2 separate regions of the Homo sapiens genome follow, and region 1 is linked to region 2. The links are contacts of gene promoters, found by promoter capture Hi-C in human tissues and cell types (Jung and others, 2019). All regions are on one chromosome and are shown on one strand. The core of a region is centred on a gene start or on the middle of the fragment in contact, and the rest is flanking DNA. Distances in the headings are between cores, read along the strand shown.

The links. Contacts are between HindIII fragments. The study calls those that stand out against the background at their distance.
Region 1: a fragment that was not itself captured here is called in contact with the fragment with the promoter of DUSP16 in region 2 in 1 of the 25 tissues and cell types used here (hippocampus).

The regions. Positions count from the first base shown.
Region 1 is chr12:12,269,791-12,274,506 of GRCh38, forward strand. No RefSeq gene overlaps it. Among named protein-coding and RNA genes, the nearest start is that of LRP6, 5.1 kb to the left of the region's middle. The HindIII fragment of the contact is 7,326 bases long and covers 1-4,716 here.
Region 2 is chr12:12,561,613-12,566,411 of GRCh38, forward strand. It overlaps DUSP16 (dual specificity phosphatase 16), which reads right to left and starts at 1,251. Exons shown (of 7, transcript NM_030640.3): 1 at 505-1,251. RefSeq lists silencers at 151-350, 371-490, 521-600, 1,051-1,560. The HindIII fragment of the contact is 19,289 bases long and covers 1-4,799 here.

The DNA of each region.
Region 1 (4,716 bases), core at 1,793-4,292, 290 kb before region 2:
TATAATATACAAACATAAATGCACACACATATATATAGCACATATTTGAGCAAAGACCAAAAGTAAGTGCACTAAAATAGGCATTAGGATGGTGAAATAATATGAGATGTAGTTTGCTTTTCTGTTCTTCAATTTTGTTTAATGTACTATATATTTACTACAAATTTTTAAAAGATGCTTAAGTGAAAATCTATAGGTTAAGCTTAAGCCCTAGAGAGAATGCCATTATTACTGCATAACTAATTTTGTTTCTCATTCTTTTAAGTGCCAATCAGATACCAATCACTCTGTTAAGTGTTGGGGATATAAAGATGAGAGTAATCATAGTCCCTACCCTCAAGAAGCTTACAGCCTAGTTTGGAAACACTGATTAATAAAGTGAGTAATTAAAATATTAAAATCTGCAGGGCACAGTGGCATACAACTGTAATCCCAGCACTTTGGGAAGTCAAAGTGGGCAGATCACTTGAGCCCAGGAGCTCGAGACCAGCCTGGGCAACATGGCGAAACCCCATCTCTACAAAAAATACAAAAATTAGCTAGACATGGTGGCGTGTACCTGGAGTCCTAGCTATTCGGGAGGCTAAGGTTGGAGGATCACTTGAGCCTAGGAGGCCAATGCTGCAGTGAGCTGTGATCTTGCCACTGCACTCCAGCCTGGGCAATACAGTGAGACCCTGTCTCCAACTAAAAAAAAAAAAAAGACAAAATTGCTAAGTGTAGAGATGCTTTTCTGCCTAGACAATTCAAAGAAGGGAAAAAAGGGCCAGGCGCAGTGGCTCACAACTTTAATCCCAGCTACTCACGAGGCTGAGGCACAGGAATCACTTGAACCCAGGAGGCGAAGGTTGCAGTGAGCCGAGATTGCGCCCCTGAACTCCAGACTGGGCAACAGAGTGAAACTCTGTCTCAAAAAAACAAAACAAAACAAAACAAAAGAAGGGAAAATAACCCTAGCGCTGAGGTTGGAAATACAAATCAGACTTTGCCAGGCCAACAAGACTGAAAAAAAATTTCAATCACAATAGTAGGTTTAAAGACACTGAATCATTAGAGAACTTAGTATGTTGGGGATTTGAAAGTAGATTCATATAGCTGATGCATGGAATGCTTTTAGAGAATGTCAGGAATTGAGGCAGGACCATTAAATAGCTATTGATTAATAAAAACCTTTTCAAGCCATGCTAAGAAGTTTAGATTTTAGCATATTAACAATGCGGACATTGAAGAATTTTGCACATTGTACAGAAGTCTATGAAAGGGGCAATCAGGACAGCAGCGCTGAGGACTGAAAAGACATCATGGATTTAAAGAATACGAGATTAAAACAGGACTTTTAGTTGTGAATTGAGAGAGAAACAGAGAGTAATGGGAGTCTCCTTTACAAAGAAAAGAAAACCTAAGAAGTATTTCAAGAAGGAGTGGGTAATAAGTTTAACAATGGCTCTTTTGTATTGGAGGTGTCTATGAAACATCCAGGTGGAGGCCGGGCGCGGTGGCTCACGCCTGTAATCCCAGCACTCTAGGAGGCCGAGGTGGATGGATCATCTGAGGCCGGGAGTCCGAAACCGGCACGGCTAACATGGTGAAACCCCATCTCTACTAAAAACAGAAAAATTAGCCAGGCATGGTAACACGTGCCTGTAATCCGAGCTACTCAGGAGGCTGAGACAGGAGAATTGCTTGAACCCGGGAGGCGGAGGTTGCAGTGAGCCAAGATCACGCCATTGCCACCCAGCCTGGGTAACAGAGTGCGACTCTGTCTGAAAAAAAAAAAAAAAAAAAAAAAGGCCGGGCGCGGTGGCTCACGCCTGTAATCCCAGCACTTTGGGAGGCCGAGGTGGGCGGATCACGAGGTCAGGAGGCCCAGACCATCCTGGCTAACACGGTGAAACCCCGTCTCTACTAAAAATACAGAAAATTAGCCGGGCATGGTGGTGGGCGCCTGTAGTCCCAGCTACTCGGGAGAATGAGGCAGGACAATGGCATGAACCTGGGAGGCGGAGGTTGCAGTGAGCCGAGATTACACCACTGCACACTCCAGCCTGGGCAACAGAGTAAGACTCTGTCTCAAAAAAAAAAAAAAAAAAAACACTTATTGAAATTGCTACCACTGGCCGGGCACGGTGGCTCACTCCTGTAATCCCAGCACTTTGGGAAGCCGAGGCAGACGGATCACGAGGTCGAGAAATCGAGACCACCCTGGCCAACATCGTGAAACCCCGTCTCTACTAAAAATACAAAAAAAAAATTAGCCGGTCATGGTGGCAGGCGCCTGTAATCCCAGCTACTTGGGAGGCTGAGGCAGGAGAATCGCTTGAACCCGGGAGGCAGAGGTTGCAGTGAGCCGAGATCGCGCCATTGCACTCCAGCCTGGGCAAAAAGAGTGAAACTCTGTCTCAAAAAAAAAAAAGAAAGAAAGAAATTGCTACCACTAAAGAAGGTATGATTAGTAATGGCAAATGCAGTGTTAACTGTTAACAACAGAGAGTCTGCTGTGAGAAGTGCTGAAAAGAGGGCATTGTGACTATAACTTTCTCGAACGTCATTGATGGGAACATACATTATGCCAGTGTTTTAGAAAATCAGTCTGGGAGTAAAATACATACACCTTTAAACTGAAACGCTGGCCGGGCGCGGTGGCTCACGCCTGTAATCCCAGCACTTTGGGAGGCTGAGGCAGACAGATCACCTGAGGTCTGGAGTTTGAGACTAGCCTGGGCAACATGGTGAAACCCCTGTCCCTACTAAAAATACAAAAATTAGCTGGGTGTGGTGGCAGGCACCTGTAATCCCAGCTACTTGGGAGGCTGAGGCAGGAGAATCGCTTGAACCCCGGAGGTGGAGGTTGCAGTGAGCCGAGATGGCGCCACTGCTTTCCAGCCTGGCAACAGAGTGAGACTCCATCTCAAAAAAAAAAAAAAGCCTACAAAAATGACAGTTTTCCTGGTTCAACCTAATCAAAAGAACCTGAAGCCTGCTTTTTAAAAAAAATCACAGATAAAGTGCACAAAATAGTCATTGGTGACTTTAAGCCAAAGCAGTTTCAGCAGAGGTATGAGATCCAAAGCAAAAGTGCAGTGAATTGAGAAATGAAGGGGAAACAGGGAGGGAGGGCAGTGGTTTTTCCCAAATCTTATTGTTAAAGGAAAGAGAACACTTGGGTGGCTGGAAAGGAATGTGAGGCTGGAGGAATCTGGGAGTTGACTTAGTTAGGGTTGATTGCTTACTTTGTTTTTAAGTTTGAGAGGAATGTGATCATATTTGTAACCTGAAGTAAGTGATCAAATAAAGAAGGAGAGTGAGGAAAGTGATTCAGAGACTTCAAGAGGATCTGGAGCCTAGCAGAATGGATCAGCCTTGGATGGGAGGAGGAGCAGGAGGATTTCCACTTCTGGAGGAGAGGAGAGTCAGTGTGGCTGCTTGACCTTCAGCTCTCCTTTCTCCACTCCCACTTTCACAGACTCCTTCCAGAGGCCTTGGGAGGGACCATGGCAATGATTAGGATGGTCATATGTTTTTATACTACTTGCAAAACCAAGATTGTTTTAGTATTCATTTTCTTTAAAATATCTCCTTCTCCAGTTGTATATGCTCAGCACTACAAAACCTGAATCTGCCCCTAGTAGCTATAAATAGGTTTCATGGGGAAGGGATAGTGGAGACAAGATTTGATTGCCTTCATTTACATAAAAACAGAAAGCAAAGTCTACATTGAGAGTGAAGTAAGAAAGAATATGGTGGTCGGGGAGGAGGTCAGGAAAGTGACAAAGGTTTGGAGAAGCTGGGAATGGAAGAGGGAGTTGACAAAGGACACATTATAGGATCCTCTAACAGCACAGAGGATGCTGCTATAACTCCCTACCAGAAATGTGGTGTATATCATGAAGAGTGGCCTTCTTGCCTCTATTTTTCTTTTTTCTTTTTTGAGACAGAGTCTCTCTCTGTCACCAGGCTGGAATGCAGTGGTGTGACCTCGGCTCACTCCAACCTCCACCTCCAGGGTTCAAGCAATTCTTATGTCTCAGCCTCCCAAGTAGCTGGGATTACAAGCGCGTGCCACCATGCCTGGCTAATGTCTTTCTTTCTTCCTTTTTTTATTTTTATTTTTTTATTATTATTTTTTTAATAGTAGAGATGGGGTTTCACCATGCTGGCTAGGCTGGTCACGAACTCCTGGCCTCATGATCTGCCCACCTCGGCCTCCCAAAGTGCTGGGATTACAGGCATGAGCCACCGTGCCCTGCCTTCTTTCTTTTTCTTTTCTTTTCTTTTCTTTCTTTTTTTTTGACAGTCTTGCTCTGTCGCCCAGACTGGAGTGCAGTGGTGCTATGTCAGCTCACTGCAAGCTCCTCTTCCCCAGTTCACGCCTACTGCCTCAGCCTCCCGAGTAGCTGGGACTACAGGCGCCTGCCACCACGCCTGGCTAATTATTTGTATTTTTAGTAGAGACAAGGTTTCACCGTGTTAGCCAGGATGGTCTCAATCTCCTGACCTCGTGATCCGCCTGCCTCGGCCTCCCAAAGTGCTGAGACTACAGGTGTGAGCCACCGCACCCGGCTTTTTTTTTTTTTTTTTTGTATTTTTAGTAGGGGCAGGGTTACGCCATGTTGGCTAGGCTGGTCTCAAACTCCTAGCCTCAAGTGATCCAGACTTGAGGGACAAGTGTTCCAGACTCCCAAAGTGCTGGGATTACAGGCATGAGCCACTGCGCCT
Region 2 (4,799 bases), core at 1-2,500:
CCGTCACCACCCAGGTGGCCTCGCTGCTTACACCAAAGGCGAACTGGGGATAATGGGAACAGTCAGGCCAGGGCCCCACTTGGCAGGCGTGTTGTGTAACAGTCGCGCCTGGAAGTGAGCAGCTTCGCCCGCAAAGGTGCCGCGTCCCGCGGCGGCCGCTCCTCTCGGCGGGGCCCGGTCCAAGCGCCGCGCAGCGGCCGGGAGCGCACCCACTGCGACCCCGCGCCCGGCCGCACGCCCCCTTCCCGCTCCGGCCAGCCTCCGGCCAGGCCTACACCCCCGCTTCAAACGCTCCTGCGGCCCCCGGCCGCGGTCGCCCCCACGCCGCCTCCCGAAAGGGTGGCCGGTACGCCCGGGAAGGCAGAGACGGCGGGGCTGGAGCGCGGCGCCCGGCACCGGGAGTCGGGGCGCGCTGCGGAGCGTCCATGCGGCCGGGCGGGAGGGCGCCCCGGGCCCCGCACCCTCCCGCCCGCACACCCCGCGCGGCCCGCCAAGGCCACTTACTTTTGGGGCCGCCGACCTCCCAATTCCCTCAGAGGGAAACGAAAGTTGTCACGGCGTCTCCCCTCGGGCCCCCCTCGCCTCCCGGACTTGCGAGGCGCCGCCGCGGAGCCGAGAGGGCGGCTGCGCTCCCGCTCGCGTCCCGTCCCGTCGCTCTCCTCCTCCTCTTCTTTTCAGTATATTATCTTCTCCTTCTCTGAGGGGTGGGTTGGGGCGGGAGGCTTAGGAAGAGAGGAGACGCTCGCAACTTTTCTTCACTCTTTCTCTTCCACCCTCCCCCCCATCAGCCTTCAAAAAAAATGTCGAAAGAGATGAAGAACTTAGGGAGGTAAAGGTGGGGGGCCGCGTTGTGAAAGTGGGGGTTGGGGGGGAGAGAGAGGTGGTAATAATCGTTTAAAAACTGATTAAAGCCCCCCAAACACTGATACATAGAAAGAGGGGGAAAGGCGGGGGGGTGGGGTGGGGGGTTGGGGGAAAGAGAAAGAGTCGCTGGTCAGGAAACTTCAAGCGCGGATGAGGTCATTGGTTTAAAAATAAAGAGATGGCGTCACTTGAAACCAATCCCAGTGAATGAACTCAGCGGAGCCCCGGGGAAAGGAGGAGACAGGCGAGGGCAGGGCGGTGGGCGCCGGGCGGGGCCGCGCGCTCGCCCATCCCGCGGCCGCCCGAGCCCGGAGCGCGGCTCCGCGCCTCGTTCCGGCCGCTCGGGGAGGGGTCAGGTCATGTTCCCTTCCAGAGTCCGGCGACTCTGAGGCAGGTTCCGCGGGCGCCGCTGGGAGGAGCCGGAGCTGCCGGAGGAGGCGGCCCCGCGGCCTCCTCCCCCACCTCTCCCTCCTCCTCCTCCTCCTCCCGCGCCCGCGCGCCCGCCCCCTACCCCCGGGCTCGCGGCCCCGACCCCCGGGCCGGGGTGTCCGCCTCCAGTGCTGCGCCCCAACAGGTATCGGAGGGTTTTCTCCCTCACCCAGACGCAGAACCTTTCCCTCCTCCTTGAGCTGTTTCCAGCTGCCTCACCAACGTCAAAAAACGCAAACACTGATTTGAGAGAATTACACTCGCTCTGTAAAAAGTCTGGCGAATGCAAAAGGCAAGGCTCTGCCATCTCTCAGGAGAGAAGTTACAGGTACTTCAAGAAAAATCACACTACTGTTGTCAGGCATTCAGCTATCTATATGTTTATGGTTGAAAGCCCCCACATAAATGTTCCTACATTACTTTACTTTGCTTATATTTACAAATACAAGGATAAGCAGCCTACATTTTCTTTAAAAATGTTTTCTACAGGAGGCAGCGCAGAAACATCTTTAAATAAGACCAGGGGTTAACCGCCTCTTGAGAGGTACAAAACCCTTGTTGATTTAACTCCACATACCTCGTGCATTTTATTATTTGAATTCATTAAAATGTCTGTTTTGAGATGACATTATGCACTTTGGAAAACGAGAGACCTGAGGTGGTGACAAACCAGGACTTGGAATCACTGAATAGGACAATCGGAGCTTTATTCCAATGTTCTTTGAGCATTTGAGCATGAAGCTGCTTCTACTGAGAAGTACTCACGTGGATATCACATAACAAAGATGTGATTAATGACGGAAAAGCACCCTGCGAGTGGACTGCTCCATGAGCCAGAATTTATGTGTAGGAATAATCTAACTCTTCAAATATTCCATTTACAATGTGCCGGATTGGGACACTAGACCCTAAAGGCACTGTTTGCTGTGGGATATCCATGTGCACCCTGCCTAAAGCACGTTTTTCCACTAGCAAAAGAACTGATAAGCAGGTTTGGGTGGGTTCGAAAGATAATACACCCCTGTTACTACTTTTCTGCCTTTAAGTCCTGCAACTAAAGGCATTCCTTATGATTGGTAATCATTGAAGGTTAGTGTTGCGGGGTATGGCCCTGGGAACTTCTGGCCCATCTTTTATAGGAGGGAAAAAAAAAGCCCATTTGAAGATGGGAGGCACCCTAGCACCTCTGGCAGTAGTAGGTAAAGCCTGAAGGCCACAGATGGAGAAGCAACTTTGAGCCTGTGCCTCTGGCCTCTTGAAGACTTTGCTAGGGGAAGCAAATCTCTCCCACTGCTCCCTGTCCTCTGGTGGCCAGGAGGTGTTACTGCAGCTTCCTTGGGATTATTTGTGCTCTACCAGGAAACCCCTAAAAATCTAACTGTAGACCTTTGTTGGAGGTGTTGGGATTTTTAGGAAGGAAGAAGAAGATAGTCCTTTTACTAGTGGTACAGAGCATGGATCTTGCCTGGAGGAAAGATTCATGAGAATTAATGGTATCCCCTTTGCATGCCAAAGTTCCAGTAACCTTGCTTTAACTGACATGGCTTGAAACGTTTCTCCCCTTTCCTCAGTTACACAATTAAGTTTGTGTAATGTATGATGTGGTGCCATCATAGCTATCATAGAAGTCTCTCAGGGTATTTCATCTATTTCTGGAAACAAGACGTATATTAAAGCTCATTAAAAACGAAATCAATGATTGAGTGATGTACAATATTGGTTAAAAGAGTCAGGGGGCCGGGCGTGGTGGCTTAAGCCTATAATCCCAGCACTTTGGGAGGCCCGAGGCGGGTGGATCATGAGGTCAAGAGATCGAGACCATCCTGGCCAACATGGTGAAACCCCGTCTCTACTAAAAATACAAAAATTAGCCAGGCGTGGTGGTGGGCGCCTGTAGTCCCAGCTACTCAGGAGGCTGAGGCAGAAGAATCACTTGAACCCGGGAGGTGGAGGTTGCAATGAGCCGAGATCGCACCACTGCACTCCAGACTCCAGCCTGGCAACAGAGTGAGACTCCATCTCAAAAAAAAAAAAAAAAACAAACAAACAAAAAAAAACATCAGGGGAGAAAAGGAGCAATGTAGGCTGGGATTATCAGGGAAGGCACCTTATAAAGAGTTTTGACCTTATCCTTGAAGGACAGTTCAGATTTAGTTTGCAGTGAAGAAGCCAGTGGAGGGAAGATTCCAGAGGGCAAATGGCAATGAGCCAAGACATGGAGGTGGAATGAATAATGAGTAAGGTGTATTCAAGTGACAGAAGAGTAAACCCAGTAGCAGTAGAAATCGGTATTTAGCAATTAGGTATGAGGTTAAATTTAAGAGATACAGAGGCACATTGTGGAGGTACTTGAATGTTAGAATAAATAGATTGTTACCTGCCCAGCAGGTGAAGGGGAAACCACTAAACAAGTTTACTTCACCGAAGAGTACATTTCTTTCTTTTACTAAGAAAGGTTTTCTACATACTAACAATAAATATGTGGAAACAGCCCTCTCCCTCTCCCGCTCCCGCTCCCGCTCCCTCTCTTTCCACGATCTCCCTCTGATGCCGAGCCGAAGCTGGACTATACTGCTGCCATCTCGGCTCACTGCAACCTCCCTGCCTGATTCTCCTGCCTTAGCCTGCTGAGTGCCTGCGATTGCAGGCACGCACCGCCACGCCTGACTGGTTTTCGTATTTTTTTGGTGGAGACGGGGTTTCGCTGTGTTGGCCGGGCTGGTCTCCAGCTCCTAACCGTGAGTGATCCGCCAGCCTCGGCCTCCTGAGGTGCCGGGATTGCAGACTGAGTCTGGTTCACTCAGTGCTCAATGGTGCCCAGGCTGGAGTGCAGTGGCGTGATCTCGGCTCGCTACAACCTCCACCTCCCAGCCGCCTGCCTTGGCCTCCCAAAGTGCTGAGAGTGCAGCCTCTGCCCGGCCGCCACCCCATCTGGGAAGTGAGGAGCGTCTCTGCCTGGCTGCCCATCGTCTGGGACGTGAGGAGCCCCTCTGCCTGGCTGCCCCATCTGGAAGTGAGGAGCGTCTCTGCCCGGCCGCCATCCCATCTAGGAAGTGAGGAGCGCCTCTTCCCGGCTGCCATCCCATCTAGGAAGTGAGGAGCGTCTCTGCCCGGCCGCCCATCGTCTGAGATGTGGGGAGCGCCTCTGCCCCGCCGCCCCGTCTGGGAGGTGAGGAGCGTCTCTGCCCAGCCACCCCGTCTGAGAAGGGAGGAGACCCTCCGCCCGGCAGCCGCCCCGTCTGCGAAGTGAGGAGCCCCTCCGCCCGGCAGCCACCCCGTCTGGGAAGTGAGGAGCGTCTCCGCCCGGCAGCCACCCAGTCCGGGAAGGAGGTGGGGCTCAGCCCCCGCCAGGCCAGCCGCCCTGTCTGGGAGGGAGGTGGGGGGGTCAGCCCCACGCCTGGCCAGCCGCCCCGTCCGGGAGGTGAGGGGCGCCTCTGCCCGGCCGCCCCTACTGGGAAGTGAGGAGCCCCTCTGCCTGGCCACCACCCCGTCTGGGAGGTGTACCC